Regions from separate parts of the Homo sapiens genome. Here all the other regions are linked to region 1. The links are contacts of gene promoters, found by promoter capture Hi-C in blood cells and fetal thymus (Javierre and others, 2016). All regions are on one chromosome and are shown on one strand. The core of a region is centred on a gene start or on the middle of the fragment in contact, and the rest is flanking DNA. Distances in the headings are between cores, read along the strand shown. Region 1 holds the start of AOAH (acyloxyacyl hydrolase). Region 2 overlaps ELMO1 (engulfment and cell motility 1). Region 3 overlaps ELMO1 (engulfment and cell motility 1). Region 4 overlaps ELMO1 (engulfment and cell motility 1). Region 5 overlaps ELMO1 (engulfment and cell motility 1).

Region 1 (2,689 bases), core at 1-2,500:
CATCTAAATGCCACCACTATTATGAGAATTCCCATGTTATGAGAGCTACAATGTGAATATCAAAGATCTTACCTTACTTCCTGCTCTCATCCAAAAAAAACAAACAAAAAAAACCTCTTGGAAATAAAACACTTCATTAACAGATGAGCCAAGAAGCCATATCAACGCTCAGCGTCTCCAGGTGATCGCCAAATCTGGATTCTCTGAGAGACGGAAGGAAGCTAAGATGGTTGAGTCCTTACTGTGTGCACATGCCACAGATTTACATGCATGGTCACAATTTCCATGGTATCCCTATGAGATGGGTCTCACTCACTTCAGTTCACCAATAAGGACACAGAAGCATGGAGAGGGTTAAGTACATTGCTCCAGGTTTCCACAGCCAGTAGGAAATGGGAGAGAAGGGTAGGAGGAGGGCAGTGATTCAAACTCAGATGTGTTTATATGAGGTCAAAGCCCATGAAAAGCAGTAAAAATTTCAGACTAAAATAGCCTGAAATAATAGTTACCTATACAAGAAGAAAAAATTCCAATCGCCAATGAGGTGGAAGAGTTTTATGCCCAATTTAAACTAGTATGCTTTTTATTCACATAGATGTATGTAGTGTCAATGTCTACTCTTAGACTCCACATTTCTCTGTGTCAGTGAGGTTACTGGTGCCTTACCTGGAATCTTACAATTCTTGATTTAATAAAATATGTGATTTATTACGCAAGCAAAGTACTGGATCCCATTGTTATGTCTACATAGAAAATACAAAAATATTTATTTGCATACCTACACAGGTGTGCCCATTCGAGAGGCTGGGCCTGGACTGGTCATCGTTGGCTGGAGAGGCCGAGGACTGAAGAGACAGGAGCAAGAATAGAGGCGCCACCGTAAGGATTTTCCAGGGGGACTGCATCTCCGAGCTATGCACCCCAAGTGATCACCCGGCTTTGGAAGCTCCCAACTGAGGGATGCTGGAGCTGAGGCTGCAGAATCAATTGATCTCTCTCTCCTTCTCTTCCTCACTCTCTTTGACACACACACCCCACCCTCTCACATACACACTTTTCAATAAGTGTGAAGTGAATAAAAGCACACATAAACACTCACAGACCCACAGCTTGCTCTTGTTGGACCCTGAGAGAGCCACACACAAAGAGCTGGAGGGAGTCTGTGGTGTGCGGTTCTGCTGAGGTAAAGACTGCAGGATAAAGAAAACCCAAGTTGCACAGTGGCACAACTTCCGTGCTCCCTGGCTCAGTGAAGTTAGTGTGCATAAACCCCGTGAGCCTCGAGGCTTGCCGGAACTGATCTGTTGGGTTGGTTAGGAGGCCCTTCCCCTTTCATTCTTGCAAAACAAAACAAAACGATACTAAAGCCAAAACTGAGAAGAAAAAAGAAAAAAAAAACTAATCCACAAGCACACAACCCTTTAACAATTTGATCAGCAGCACCCACATATTGTAGAAATTCTAATTGGTTACATTCAGAACTTACTTAGTCTTGTTTTCAACAGCTTTATATGGTAAGGTTGTGATCCTTATTTTGTTGTAAAAGGATATTCTGGTCAAATAATATCTTTCCTCTGGAGAAATTGGGTTATTCCTTGAAGGGTCAAGGCCTTTTATTTGGTGTGCAGAAAATAAACAGTACAGAAAATAATGGGCAGTTAGCATGGTGGGATTTTAGACCTAATGAGAAAAAACATGGGTTAGAATTAATCAATTCACAGTTGCTAGGCTGTGCACAATGCATCTTTTTTTTCTCCAGAATTTCGAAGTGCATTTTGTGGATGATTTGTTAAGAGACTGATTTTCTGCTCTGAAGAATAGAACTGAACACTGTCTTTCTGAGGGAAAAAAAAAATCGGAACCAGATCATAGATAAAAGACATATAATCTAAATGTTTCTCTCTAAAATAAGATAAAACAAAATCATATGCCATTCTCAGTCAAGATAAGAGGACAGGGCCAAAGTACCACAGTCTAGGTAAGTGTAGGAGGTCATGAGATTCTGTTTCTCTCTGCTTAGGCTCTGAGGGAGCTTATTACAAATTTTGAAATATTATAGAAGCTATCTAAATTGTTAGCAATTAAAAAAAATAGCATTTGGAGTAGCAGGCAAAGTTTTAGAGTAGCATCCTTTCCAGGATGTAGGAAATACCAGTTTTTATGGTTGGAAGATTTCTTGTGCAGTCATTAGTCTTACAAGCACCGATGGGGCTACAATTCCCAAACCTGCTGCAGAGATAGCACAAGTCAGAGTGTTTCCCTAATTACACTTCCAGCCCAATACTGAGGATATCGTTAGGCGTCCATGGGCCTGTGACTTCCTCTGACTCTAAGGTGCTGCTGCTTCAGTTCTTCACTCTGTGACTAAGGGGAGCTCTGGGGTCACTAGGACCACCACAGGGGTGAGGCCTAGAGAAGTTCCAGAGACTTCCAAGGGAGGCTAAATAAAGGACTGATTGATTAGGAACTCAGATTGTGAAGACAGAAAGGCTCATGCTTACGTCTCATGTCTACTGTTTATTCTGAGTAATATATTAGACCAGTGATGTAACTTTCCCCCCTTCAGTGTCTTGTTTTTGTTGTTGTTGTTGTTGTTTGTTTGTTTTTTGAGACAGGGCCTTGCTTTTTCATCCAGGCTGGAGTGCAGTGGTGTGATCACAGCTCACTGCAGTGTTGACCTCCTGGGTTC
Region 2 (2,689 bases), core at 114-2,613, 250 kb after region 1:
AGGTTGCTTTGTGAAACTAGGATAGCTACACCTCTTGAATTTGTTTTTACAGTTCAGTTTCTCTTAGGTGTTTAGAGGGGAAGGAGGGCGGAAGGCAAAGATAGCTGTTGGACAATTTGTTTTCACCGATTACTTTCAAGTAGTTTTCAAACAACTCTTACAAGGGCCCAGTTTTTGAAAGTGGATAAATTTTCGTCAGGTAAACAGGCATGGAAATGAATGCATAGGTGAATACACAGATGACTTAGTGAATACATAAATAAATGTGGTTTGTTGAATTTTTTTCTTATTGTAGCTTCCATATTCTGGGGAATTCCAACTCTGAGGCTAATGATTGCCTGAAAAATAAATCTCCATGCAGGTTAATCCATATATACTCACAGCTGGGAATCCCAAGGCCTAGAACAGTACCTGATACAGGGTTGGCATTCAGCAAACATTGATTGTTGAATAAATTGAGCAAGAAAATGTGAACTTTGTCTCTTGTTAACAGTGGATATTAGCAAGTCAATGAATGTTTCTGAACCTCACTTTCTTTACCTGTAATAAGGTAACTGCATGCTACTACCCTCCCCTCACTCCCTGTTGGCTCATGGAGCCCAGAGGTAGAGCCCCAGGAAGCCACACCAGGGGACCTAAGTTGTCACCAGATGAAATCTATCTGACATCCTAGGACTCAGGTTACTTCAAGATCTAGGATGCTATAAGTTCACAGTAAATAGATGTCCAGATGTGACAGAGAAAGAAATCACCCCTTCTCCTCTCTTGACAGAATACATCATGGGTATGAAGTGCATGGCCGGCGGGAGTGCAGGGGGTGTGGAGAAGAAAGTCATCAAGAAGTGGCTGGGAACCTGCATGTGAAAGAACCAAAAATGTACATGTTTCTCAAAGCTTTCATTATGCCTTCAAGAAGAAGAAAGAGTTGGGGTAGGATGGCTAAAGCTCAGCTATCCAGAAAGATTTATGGGCCATCTGCTGAGACCAAGAACATCTTGACTTACAAATGTAAAAGCCACCGATTATTTATGGCAGGTCACAGCCTTCTTGAATGCCGCCAGGCATCTCCCTAGAAGCACAATATCATTTGATGTTGACTGGCTTCCAAAACCAGGAAACTACATACACATCACTGTAGCTCCACATTCTGGAGCTTTTGCTACCCTAGAAATAGGTTTCCAATTATTCCTCCTCAATAAACAAGGATGAGTTGTTAGGAGATATTAGATTTGAAGCATAATAGTAAGCCCTTATTTTACAATCCACAGAGTACATGGGATATATTAATAAATGTGCTCTCTAAACATTTCTATGTACCAGGTAGAGTCAATAAGATCTATATTTTTATCCAGGAGAAAAAATACTAAAGATTGAAGGGGCAACATGGCGAAACCTAAATCTTACTTGGTGGCTATGCTGAAACTTGACCCAGGCCCTGGCTTGTAAGTGTAGTGCCTTTCTCTCTGGGTGGCCTTTAATGCTAGAGGGTTGGGGTAGTGCCTGAGGATTATTTAGGAGAATAATCTGAAAGTAGAGAGAAACTTCCATGGCAAAAGAGCAGAACTAGACATTCTGTGAGACATGAAAAATAAATGGCTTCTACCCAAGGGATGGAATCAGACTATTTTCCCCTCCCATACATATTATAATTTACTAATCACTCACACATACATCATTTATATTTTCATTTGTTAACAGCCTCATGGGAAATGTACCTTCTTCCCTTTCTACAGATGAGGAAGCTAAGGTTCACAGAGATTAAGGAGTCCCTCTACCCAGTTCTCAGAAAATTTTAGAGGGGACAGAAGCATGGCTCATAAGGTGGTCTTTGCAAAGCTTCTTACGCCTACTTTGCCCAGATATTTGACGCTGGCTCAGGGAATCTAGGACGCGGCTGTCATCCCTTGTCCCCCATCAATCTCTAAAGCTAAAAGGTGTGGCTCTGCTACTACCCTCATGGTACTAGAAAGAGTGCCCTGGAACCTTTAGCATTAAGTAGTCTAGGTCTAGGGACAGTGCCAATGTTGGTGGTTTTCAAACCAGCTCCTGCTTTGATATCCCTCTTTGTATATGACAAAGTTTCTGAAATGCGGACTTCAAATTGCTGGCTCATTAGGCAAGGAGGGGGCTCCATCTCACCTGCTGGGACCTGTGGCCTAGATGACTCTAGTTAGAACTGAGTTGCCCAGAGCAGCCCTGACTTGGGCTACCAGTGTGAAGGCCTGAGTTCCATTAGCTCATGGGTGTTTCTTTCCAACCAGGCAAGTGGACGTCAGAACTGCCCCAGATGCTATCTTAAATATTCAGCTGCAAGAATTCCAACCAAGTTGGAAAGAAACTTTATTTCATTATACTTCCAGGTCTGGGAATGATGCCAGTGAACAGCTCTCCTTGACAGGTCTCTCATCACTTACAGCTCAAAGGAAAAGAGAAGTTAGCTCCCAAAGCGCAAGGCTGCAGCCCTCCTTGTCAGATGGCAACACCTCCACGGAACAGCTGAGCAAGAGGATGAGTAAAGAGCTGTCTGCCTTATCACCAAAACCCTGCATACTGATGATAATTCCCTGTATGCTTCTTTTCAAAGTCTTGCACAAGGCACTGAGCTGAGGCAAGGACATAAGAGAGGGATGAAAAATCAGTTTCAGCTGTAAGACAATTCTGATATCTCACTAGCGGTTGACTTAGTGCT
Region 3 (2,689 bases), core at 84-2,583, 230 kb after region 1:
AAAGGTAGGGTGCCAGGAAACTCAGAGTCTTTTCCATATGTAAGGATCCAAATCACTTCTTGCTGTCCCTTGCTACTTCCCCAGGGTCCCAAAGTCTACCCTATTCGTGACCTTAATCCTTTATTCAGGCTGTTGCCTCATCTTTAAATTCCTTCCCTGACACCCTCTAGCCCATTCCTATCCAAAATGGGTGGTAAATTCTTGATATCTTTCAAAGTCCAGTTCAGATATCTCCATTCTTGTTCTTTGTAGGATCCCAGCTCCCTACTCACCCAAGAGGATAAACTGTTCTCACTTCTCTTTTTCAGTATAATGCTAACTCAACAGGGCTACTGGATTCCATGTCTCTCTCCTCTGCTAGACCACTCGATGCTTTAGAAGATCCCTTTTTCATGTTTAGATCTCTAGGTCTTAACACAGTGTCGTGATGCAAAGTAGGTGTCCACCTCAAATTTATTTATCTCAATACCTGTTCCCTTTCTGAGAGCCTTTTCTTGTCTAGGGTGTCCTGAAGGCTACATATATTTCTTGGAGGCTGAATAGGTGTACTTCTTGCTTCTGCTTTCTGCTTCCAGACCACTATCCTTTCCACTTGCTAACCTCCTGCCCAGTTCCTTTGAGGTGCCTGCCATGGGACTACAGCCTTCCTTATGTTATTTATTCTGCTTTTGGTCATGCCACAATCCATTGATGATTTTCTTATCCTTCTCTTGGTCAGGGCAGAATCTATAATTCCCTTCAAATTCTGCATATGCCTTCTTGTCTTTTTTGAAATAAAATAATTAAGTCAGAAACTTTCAAAACAAGGCCTTGTTCTCTTCTACATCCAAGAAGTAATTTCAGACCCAAATGCCATCTGATCAATCATCATGTTATATGTTTGTAAAGGACAATTCCAAAATAGGCTAGACTGCATATAAAAAAAAGGTCACTTTATTCAACAAGTTTTATTTTATAGCTCAAAAATGCACCCAGGCGTACAAGAAAACTAATTAGACTTGAAGACTACCAAGTGATGCCATCTTGTGACAGCTTATAGTGACAAAGCTTCTTAGCAGTTGTGAAAAAGACTTTCATAAAAAATATGTTGTTCCTATATAAAAATCATCGATCGGGCAATTTTTTAAATGACTACTTTGAAATGGGAAGAGTGAGAAAGTGGAACTTAATGAGTAAATAATCAGTAGCCTACAGGTTTGATTACAACGCCGGAAAAAATGGCAAGAAATCATGAGCCAAGGAAAGCACGTGTTGATTGCCCTTTCCCAATAACTACTCTTCTGGTAGCCTGTTTCCCAAGTCCAAAATGCTCAGTGGCGAGCAAAGAAAAATATCATTTCCAAGTTATGTTCCATGGTAATGTTGTCGATTTCCCACAAACTGTGATCTCCCCAAGAGATAGCCAAAGCTATTTAAGGGCTGTCAGCCTTGTTTCTGTGGAGAGGATGGCACCAGCTCTTTTCCAATGTAAATATGAAGTGCTCTCCATGAAAACAGTATTTGTGGAAGCATTCAACCAACTTAGTAATTCTGAAATACATTCAGGCAAAGACCCCAGTCGCTGAGTGGTGATTTCCTAATCTAGAAAGTAATGAACAAATGAAGGAGTATGGCTCCTGGAAAGCTTGAAGTTGCCTTTGACAGGATTGAGGCAAAGCCTTGCAGCTCTGCAGCCCCTACTGGACCACTGCTCCTCCTTTCTGCTTCCAGACCACCGCCCTTTTTACTCCCTAACTCCCTGCCCAGTTCCTTTGAGGTGCCTGACATTATACTATCCACTATCCCTCTTTATGACACTTACTCTCCACCTGGTCATGCCACAATTCATTGACGATTTTCTTACCCTTCCCTCTCTTTATCATCATTCTTAGTAACTTCAATATCCTCACAGATGATCTACCCAATACCTAGCTTCTCAGTTCCACAACCCTCCTCAACCCAAAGGTCTTGTCCTTTATAATCTCCTAAAGCAGCTTTTGCTGTGACTGTAGCCTAAGCTTTGTCATTGAAAATACAGAACCATTGCTGAAGTCGTAAGTTTACAAGCACCATCTTGTGTCTTTCCAATTCACTCTCTCTAGTATGCCCATTCTGTGGAGTCCTGACAAGATAAGTAAACAACAAGGAAGATGCCCCAAGTGTGGAGAGAACAATTGTTCTGAGAGAAGGCTAACCACCAACAACCTGCTGACACAACATCCTGTTCCCAAATACCTCGCTTTGCATGTAGCCCCAGCAGCACAAGCTTATCTGTAGGTAGCCCCTCCGGCACCACCCTGTAAAACTTCCCTCCAGATCCTGTCTCTTTGCAGACAGCTCCTTCTCTGCTGTGCTGCCCATTGCTTTCTTTAACTTACTACTGTCTTTGTAAATTATTTTACCACCCACAATGCTGGCTCCAATCAGTTGCAACCTGCAACACATTCCAAAAGTTCTCTGATCCTGCTGTGACTCTTAACATTGCCACCTTTTCCTTGTCCATCACCCCATTCATGGCTTCACTTTCCTCATTACCTAACTTCTATTCCATTATAATTATAATCTCTCCTTTTGTATTCATGAATACATCCCCAGTACCTCTTCTCTCTATCATATTTGCTTAGCAAAACCAACCTAGCTTAAATCCTATTCTCTGCCTCCTCCACCCACCTGAACAGCCGAACAGGCTGGAGAAAAGCATACAATGGTG
Region 4 (2,689 bases), core at 111-2,610, 210 kb after region 1:
ACCCTGCAACAGAGAGATAACACCAACCCCTATTTCAGGCTCTGTTTGGTTCCCACTGCCTGGTTAACAATGCTCATCTTGAAGGAGCAGGCCGAGTAAACTCTCAGCCCCATTCCCAGGCCAGACTGTAACTATTACCTATGGTCTAAAGTGCAGTCAGTCATCCCACCCACCAGGGCTGTGGGAGAGGCCTCAGGGAATCAGACAGTCCTGCTGAGGAACTAGGGGTCTTCTTCCACTAGATTAAATGTGAAAGGGAGCTTTTCTGAAAGGTGAGAATGTACTAAAGTGTGGCATATGACACACAAAGAGCTGCACAGCACGTGCACCCACAACAAGGGACCAGAAAGACAGGAGGGACTGGTAGCAGCATGACCTCACTAGTCATGGGCAACCATCACCTATGGAAGTTTTATCTGGCCAGCCACTGAGCTACATGCTGCATCTGCCCTAATAGTGGAGATTACTAAGAAAGGGCAGTTGAGAGAGGTTAAGAGTTTTACTCGGGGCACCTGGCTAGCAAGTAGCAGACTCTGCTAGAACCAAAGCCCCATACTCTCTAGTACTGCCTCTAATGGGGTAAGCTTGGTCTAGGCAGCTACAGATTGGGGTATGGATTCCTGCCAGGCTTACTTCCTGATGTCCAGGGGCTGGCCGCACCACCAGCACTGCACTGACTCTTTCATCCACATAGAAGTGGGGTCAAGCTCCACATGAAAGTGCAAGTGCTGCCACCTCCTCTTAGTTCCCTAGGGTCACTCCCCCGTTAAGTCTCCTGCCTCTCAAATCTGAGTTTTCTGATGGAGTGCACACCAAAGCATTGGTAAATACACATCAAGGCATTAGATATGATGGAATGCACATCAAGACACAGGTAAATACACATCAAGGCATCAGATTGAAAATTTCTCTAAGCTGAGATTAAAATGATCACATAAATATTTCTTAATGGGGCAACATGCCACCCTCCAAACCTTTATTAAGCATGCTTTATGGTCTTCCAGCTCAGTGTTTAGTGTGGCCCAGCCCAGAATGGTCAGCACTCATATAATACTTGTTGAAAAAATAAACAATGAATGGGTCAAGCAGCTGATGACTTTTATAGAGAGTATGTCTTAGACTCACTGTAACACCACAATGTGAAAATAGCTGGCGATGTATACTGAAATATTATATATTCAAGTCTATGATGGTCAAATCTATTGTACTGGCTTTCAAATGCACTTGAAAACCATTACTCCCAAGTGAGTCCCCTGGAAACAAGCCAGAGCTTGTCCGGTCCATGAGTTACTCCCAAAGTATAAGTAAAGAGGTTCATCAGCTCTGCATATCCCTTCGGGAGCAATTGAGAAAATGAATAGTCTGCTGCTCCATGAGATCCAAGTGGCCTAATGAAATAGTGCATCTCCACAAGGCCCTAAATTATGTTGAGAGATTATGTTGGTCATTAGGTAGCACCCCTACTGTGAGGAGCACTGGTCAACGCAAATCAAAGAGAGTTGGGAAACACATCCAGTCACTGAGGAGTCATGAGCTCATTGCCTATATAAAATGCAACTGAACTGACTACCCTGGTGTACGGGTCTCCCCAGCCCATGGGCAAGCTACTATTTGCCAGGGAATACTTATGCCCTCTGGATGTGTCTAGAAATGGTTAGGTGGCTTTTTGGGCCCAATGTAGTTATGTTAACAAAATCAATAGCAAGCCAGTGTTAGGCTAATTCAAAAGCTGTATCTTGCTTTCAAATGGCAGATTCAGTGAATTTTAGTCCATGTTCATATACTGTAATATTTTTGGATGTGCCTTTTTAAGATAAAAAGAGTAGAAAGTCTAGCTCCATGCAATTCCCTCAAATGAAAACTACAATTTCCTAACCTTTGAAGGTTCATTTCTCTTAGGCTGTCATTAAAATTACATATGCTTTTAATTTGCTGAGTTGCATTTAGTGGGAAGCCTCCCAAGCCACATGCTGTGCTCTGTTACTCACTCCTGTATTCCAGGGGCATTGCTCCTCAAAAGAGTAGTCATAATTGAAATACCCTCTAAGATAGGATAAAATCATCTTCTACAGAACATGCTCAGGCACATCATTTTTTAATGCTGTGTTTTTAGAAACACCTCACTGATTTTTTAAAATAAGCTTGACTCTGCTTTCCTCCCTTAGTGAGAAAGTCTATCATTCCAAACATGTCATACTCACAATTTCAGCTGTTTTCCAATAAGGCAAGGGCAAAAACGGTCAAAGCATGTTTTCTAGGGTGAGAAAGACATGCTTCCTCTCTTTCTGCACAAAGGGGACACGCAGAAAAATTCAGTGAACCTTTTCAGACTCAACTTTGAGGTGAGAACATGCGCACCTTCAGTCTCCTATCTCTTCCTCCATCAGTCCTCAAAAGCGGTCAGAATGGATAAGAGTTTCTTTCTTTCCTATTACACTTCATTCATTTTTGTCAATTTGATAGTTAAGAAATGTAGTCTAAAATAATACAGAATTTAATAAGATGAAAGCTTTGGTCACTATCATGCTTATTGGGCACCATGCTAGAATGAAAAGGATGGATACAAATGTGGAATAAAATGTGCTTCCTTTAGAACATTTAAGGCAGCTTTTCGGGATTTATCCCAGAGAGTCAATCTCCCAGGACCAGTACTAGCTGCTTAAGACGTAATGGATGCTACTGGAATAGG
Region 5 (2,689 bases), core at 117-2,616, 140 kb after region 1:
TTCAGGCAGTTACAACTCTCCAGCCCCAATCTATCTTAGCAGCGTAACCGGCCAATAGTTCTCCAATCCATATTCTTCTCCCCATCCCCATCCATCCTATACTCTGAATTCAACATTCCCAATTAGAGGATGCTTTTCACATGAGCAAAGGCCCTTGTGCCTTTTCAGACTTTTTCCTCCTTTTGGAAAGTCTTCTCCTCATTCTCTGCCTGGCCAATTCCTTTTCAAAAGCTAGATCAGATGCCATGTCCTGCATCACCTTTCTCAACTCTCCCAGGCTCCATGTTTAATTTTTTTTGGCATAGACATATTGAATTGTAATTGCATATTTAAATATAAATGTTATCTACTGGACACCTAGGGCCAGGGGCCAGGTCATATTTATCTTTGGATTCCTGGCACCTAGGACAAAGGAGATGCTCAATACATTGCTGAATGAATGAATGAATGGATGATGAATGAAGTAAATGTGAATAAAGGACTTTTTGGCTAAGACCAGGGTTTTCAAACTGATGCTAGAACATCAGCTTCAGTAGAATATGCTTCCTATTTCAGGTTTAAGCATCACACTGGAAAAACAAATGCTTAATTCTGGCAAATGGGAAGATGGAAGCTTCTCATACACCAAATATACTCCTATCTGAATCAATGGATCTTCACTCTGGTGATTTCATGTTGACTGTTGACCTAAAAGCCCCAAATTCAGTGAGACAAGCACCAAGAATGCCCACCTTAAAGCACACAGCCACAAATCAGCTTATTTTTATAAATTATAGAGTTTGAATTTAGAATCCTTAATCCTTGCAAATCAAAACCTTCCAACTGAATTTCCATCTACTCATGGCAATTCTTTTCAAGTCTCAATGAGAAACTTTCTGATCCCTGTGTGAAGAACCCACCATTTCTTGTCTCCGTAAAAATGTGCCTGCTGCACTGAACTCTGTTAAACATAACAGACTCTAAGCTCCAGAAAGACAGGACCCCAGCTACCCCATTTAGTCCTGTGCTATTTCAGGCACTCCCATGCTGACTGAGTGGATGACTGACTACATGAACAAATGCCTCTGCAATAGACACCTCAAGGGAAAGGACCAATTTTCTTCTTTCTGTTCTCAGGGCCCTGCTGGGAACATCAGCAGAGACCGAATGGGTGAGAGGATGATCAGTTATCAACACTCTGCCATTAACAAAGTATCTCTTTTACAGATGCCAATGTCTCAGTTTGCCTTGCTCGGTGATTAAGTTAACCATGGGTCTCATGGCACAAAATGTCAAAAGCTGTTCCACAGCTGGAAAAACTGTCCAAAGAGCCAGCAATTTGCCTTGGTTGTCATCCATCCACTGTGTACTGACAGACCTCTTATGAACACATTCTGGTCAATTCTCCTTTTAGGCTGCAGGTCCCCTTTTCCTACCCAGAAGTCCCAGAGGTAGACAGGAGGGCACCTCTGGAGTACGGGGAAAGGGGTGTGGGTTGGGGGGTTCAGCAGGTAAAATCGTGGCTTTCCTTCTGCCTTTTGATGTTTTGCTTGATGACATGGTATATATGAACACTAGTAACATTGCAAGACAAGTAAATTCCATGTATATGCTAATTAAAGGGCCAGGCTGCTTGAAATTCTGCTAGTCTTATCCCTCATGGCAGACTGGAAGAGCCCAGGGTAGCTAGAAATACGGGCCAGTGAGTCCCAGGAAGTAGCCTCTATTTGCAGTCTTATCTGTTTACAGTGGCGTACTCCATCCATCCATCATTCTCCAGCTGTCCATCCATCATCCATCTATCCATCATCATCCATCCTATGTTTTATGAGTGTCATGACAATATGTGAAAAATAAAGGTTGCAAAACATCATTTACTCGGTTTTACTTTTTTAGTCTCCTTTAAGGAGAGAGGAGTCTGATACAAGGCCAAATATACTACCTCACATGTTCAAATGAAATCATCTCCACATCTGTTATATGGGTGACTCTCATTTTTTTCTTGGTTAGCCAGGCTAGAAGTTTATCAATTTTATTCATCTTTTCAAAGTACCAGCTTTTGGTTTTGTTGATTTTCTCTACTGATTTCAGTTTCATTGATTTCTACTCTAAATTTTATATTTCTTTTCTTCTGCTTGCTTTAAGCTTAAATTGCTCTCCTTCCTTAGTGTCCTGAGGTGGAAGCTTTATTGATTTTCGTTCTTTCTTCTTTTCTAATGTAGTCATTCAATGCTATAAATTTCCCTCTAAGCACTGCCTTCACTGCATCCCACACATTTTGGTAAGCTGGATTTTCATTTTATTTAGTTTGAAACATTTTGTAATTTCTCTTGGGAATTCTTCCTGGAACTGTGGGTTATTTACAAGTGTGTTGTTAAATTTCCAAACATTTGGGGGATTTTCCAGCTGTCTTTCTGCTGCTGATTTCTAGTTTAATTCCATTGTGATTTGAGAACATACTTTGTCTAACTGCTATTCTTTAAATTTTTTAAGACATGCTTTACGGTCCAAAATGTGGTCTATCTTGGTGAATGTTTCCTTTGAGCTTGTGAAGGATGTGTATTCTGCCGTTGCTGAGTGGATTAGTCTATTAATGTCAATTAGATCAAGCTGATTTATGGTGCTGTTCAGGTCATCAATATTCTTGATCTTCTGCCTGCTTGGTCTACTGATTACTGACCAAGGGAAGTTGAAGTCTCCAATATATTAA

What was found. The method cuts DNA at HindIII sites, captures the fragments that hold promoters and counts their contacts. A CHiCAGO score of 5 or more calls a contact.
Region 2: a contact is called between a fragment that was not itself captured here and the fragment with the promoter of AOAH in region 1, in 1 of 17 cell types (total CD8 T cells). The highest score is 5.1, in total CD8 T cells.
Region 3: a fragment that was not itself captured here is called in contact with the fragment with the promoter of AOAH in region 1 in 1 of 17 cell types (M1 macrophages); the score reaches 6.0 in M1 macrophages.
Region 4: a contact is called between a fragment that was not itself captured here and the fragment with the promoter of AOAH in region 1, in 1 of 17 cell types (total CD8 T cells). The highest score is 5.1, in total CD8 T cells.
Region 5: a contact is called between a fragment that was not itself captured here and the fragment with the promoter of AOAH in region 1, in 1 of 17 cell types (naive CD8 T cells). The highest score is 5.2, in naive CD8 T cells.

The regions. Positions count from the first base shown.
Region 1 is chr7:36,723,244-36,725,932 of GRCh38, forward strand. It overlaps AOAH (acyloxyacyl hydrolase), which reads right to left and starts at 1,251. Exons shown (of 21, transcript NM_001637.4): 1 at 779-1,251. The coding sequence starts at 905. The HindIII fragment of the contact is 12,094 bases long and covers 1-2,689 here.
Region 2 is chr7:36,977,639-36,980,327 of GRCh38, forward strand. The region is part of intron 16 of ELMO1 (engulfment and cell motility 1); the gene reads right to left. Among named protein-coding and RNA genes, the nearest start is that of ELMO1-AS1, 19 kb to the right of the region's middle. RefSeq lists a silencer at 2,473-2,673. The HindIII fragment of the contact is 942 bases long and covers 893-1,834 here.
Region 3 is chr7:36,955,628-36,958,316 of GRCh38, forward strand. All of the region lies in intron 16 of ELMO1 (engulfment and cell motility 1), which reads right to left. Among named protein-coding and RNA genes, the nearest start is that of MIR1200, 38 kb to the left of the region's middle. The HindIII fragment of the contact is 577 bases long and covers 1,046-1,622 here.
Region 4 is chr7:36,928,570-36,931,258 of GRCh38, forward strand. The region is part of intron 16 of ELMO1 (engulfment and cell motility 1); the gene reads right to left. Among named protein-coding and RNA genes, the nearest start is that of MIR1200, 10 kb to the left of the region's middle. The HindIII fragment of the contact is 1,557 bases long and covers 583-2,139 here.
Region 5 is chr7:36,865,433-36,868,121 of GRCh38, forward strand. The region is part of intron 20 of ELMO1 (engulfment and cell motility 1); the gene reads right to left. Among named protein-coding and RNA genes, the nearest start is that of MIR1200, 53 kb to the right of the region's middle. The HindIII fragment of the contact is 1,511 bases long and covers 612-2,122 here.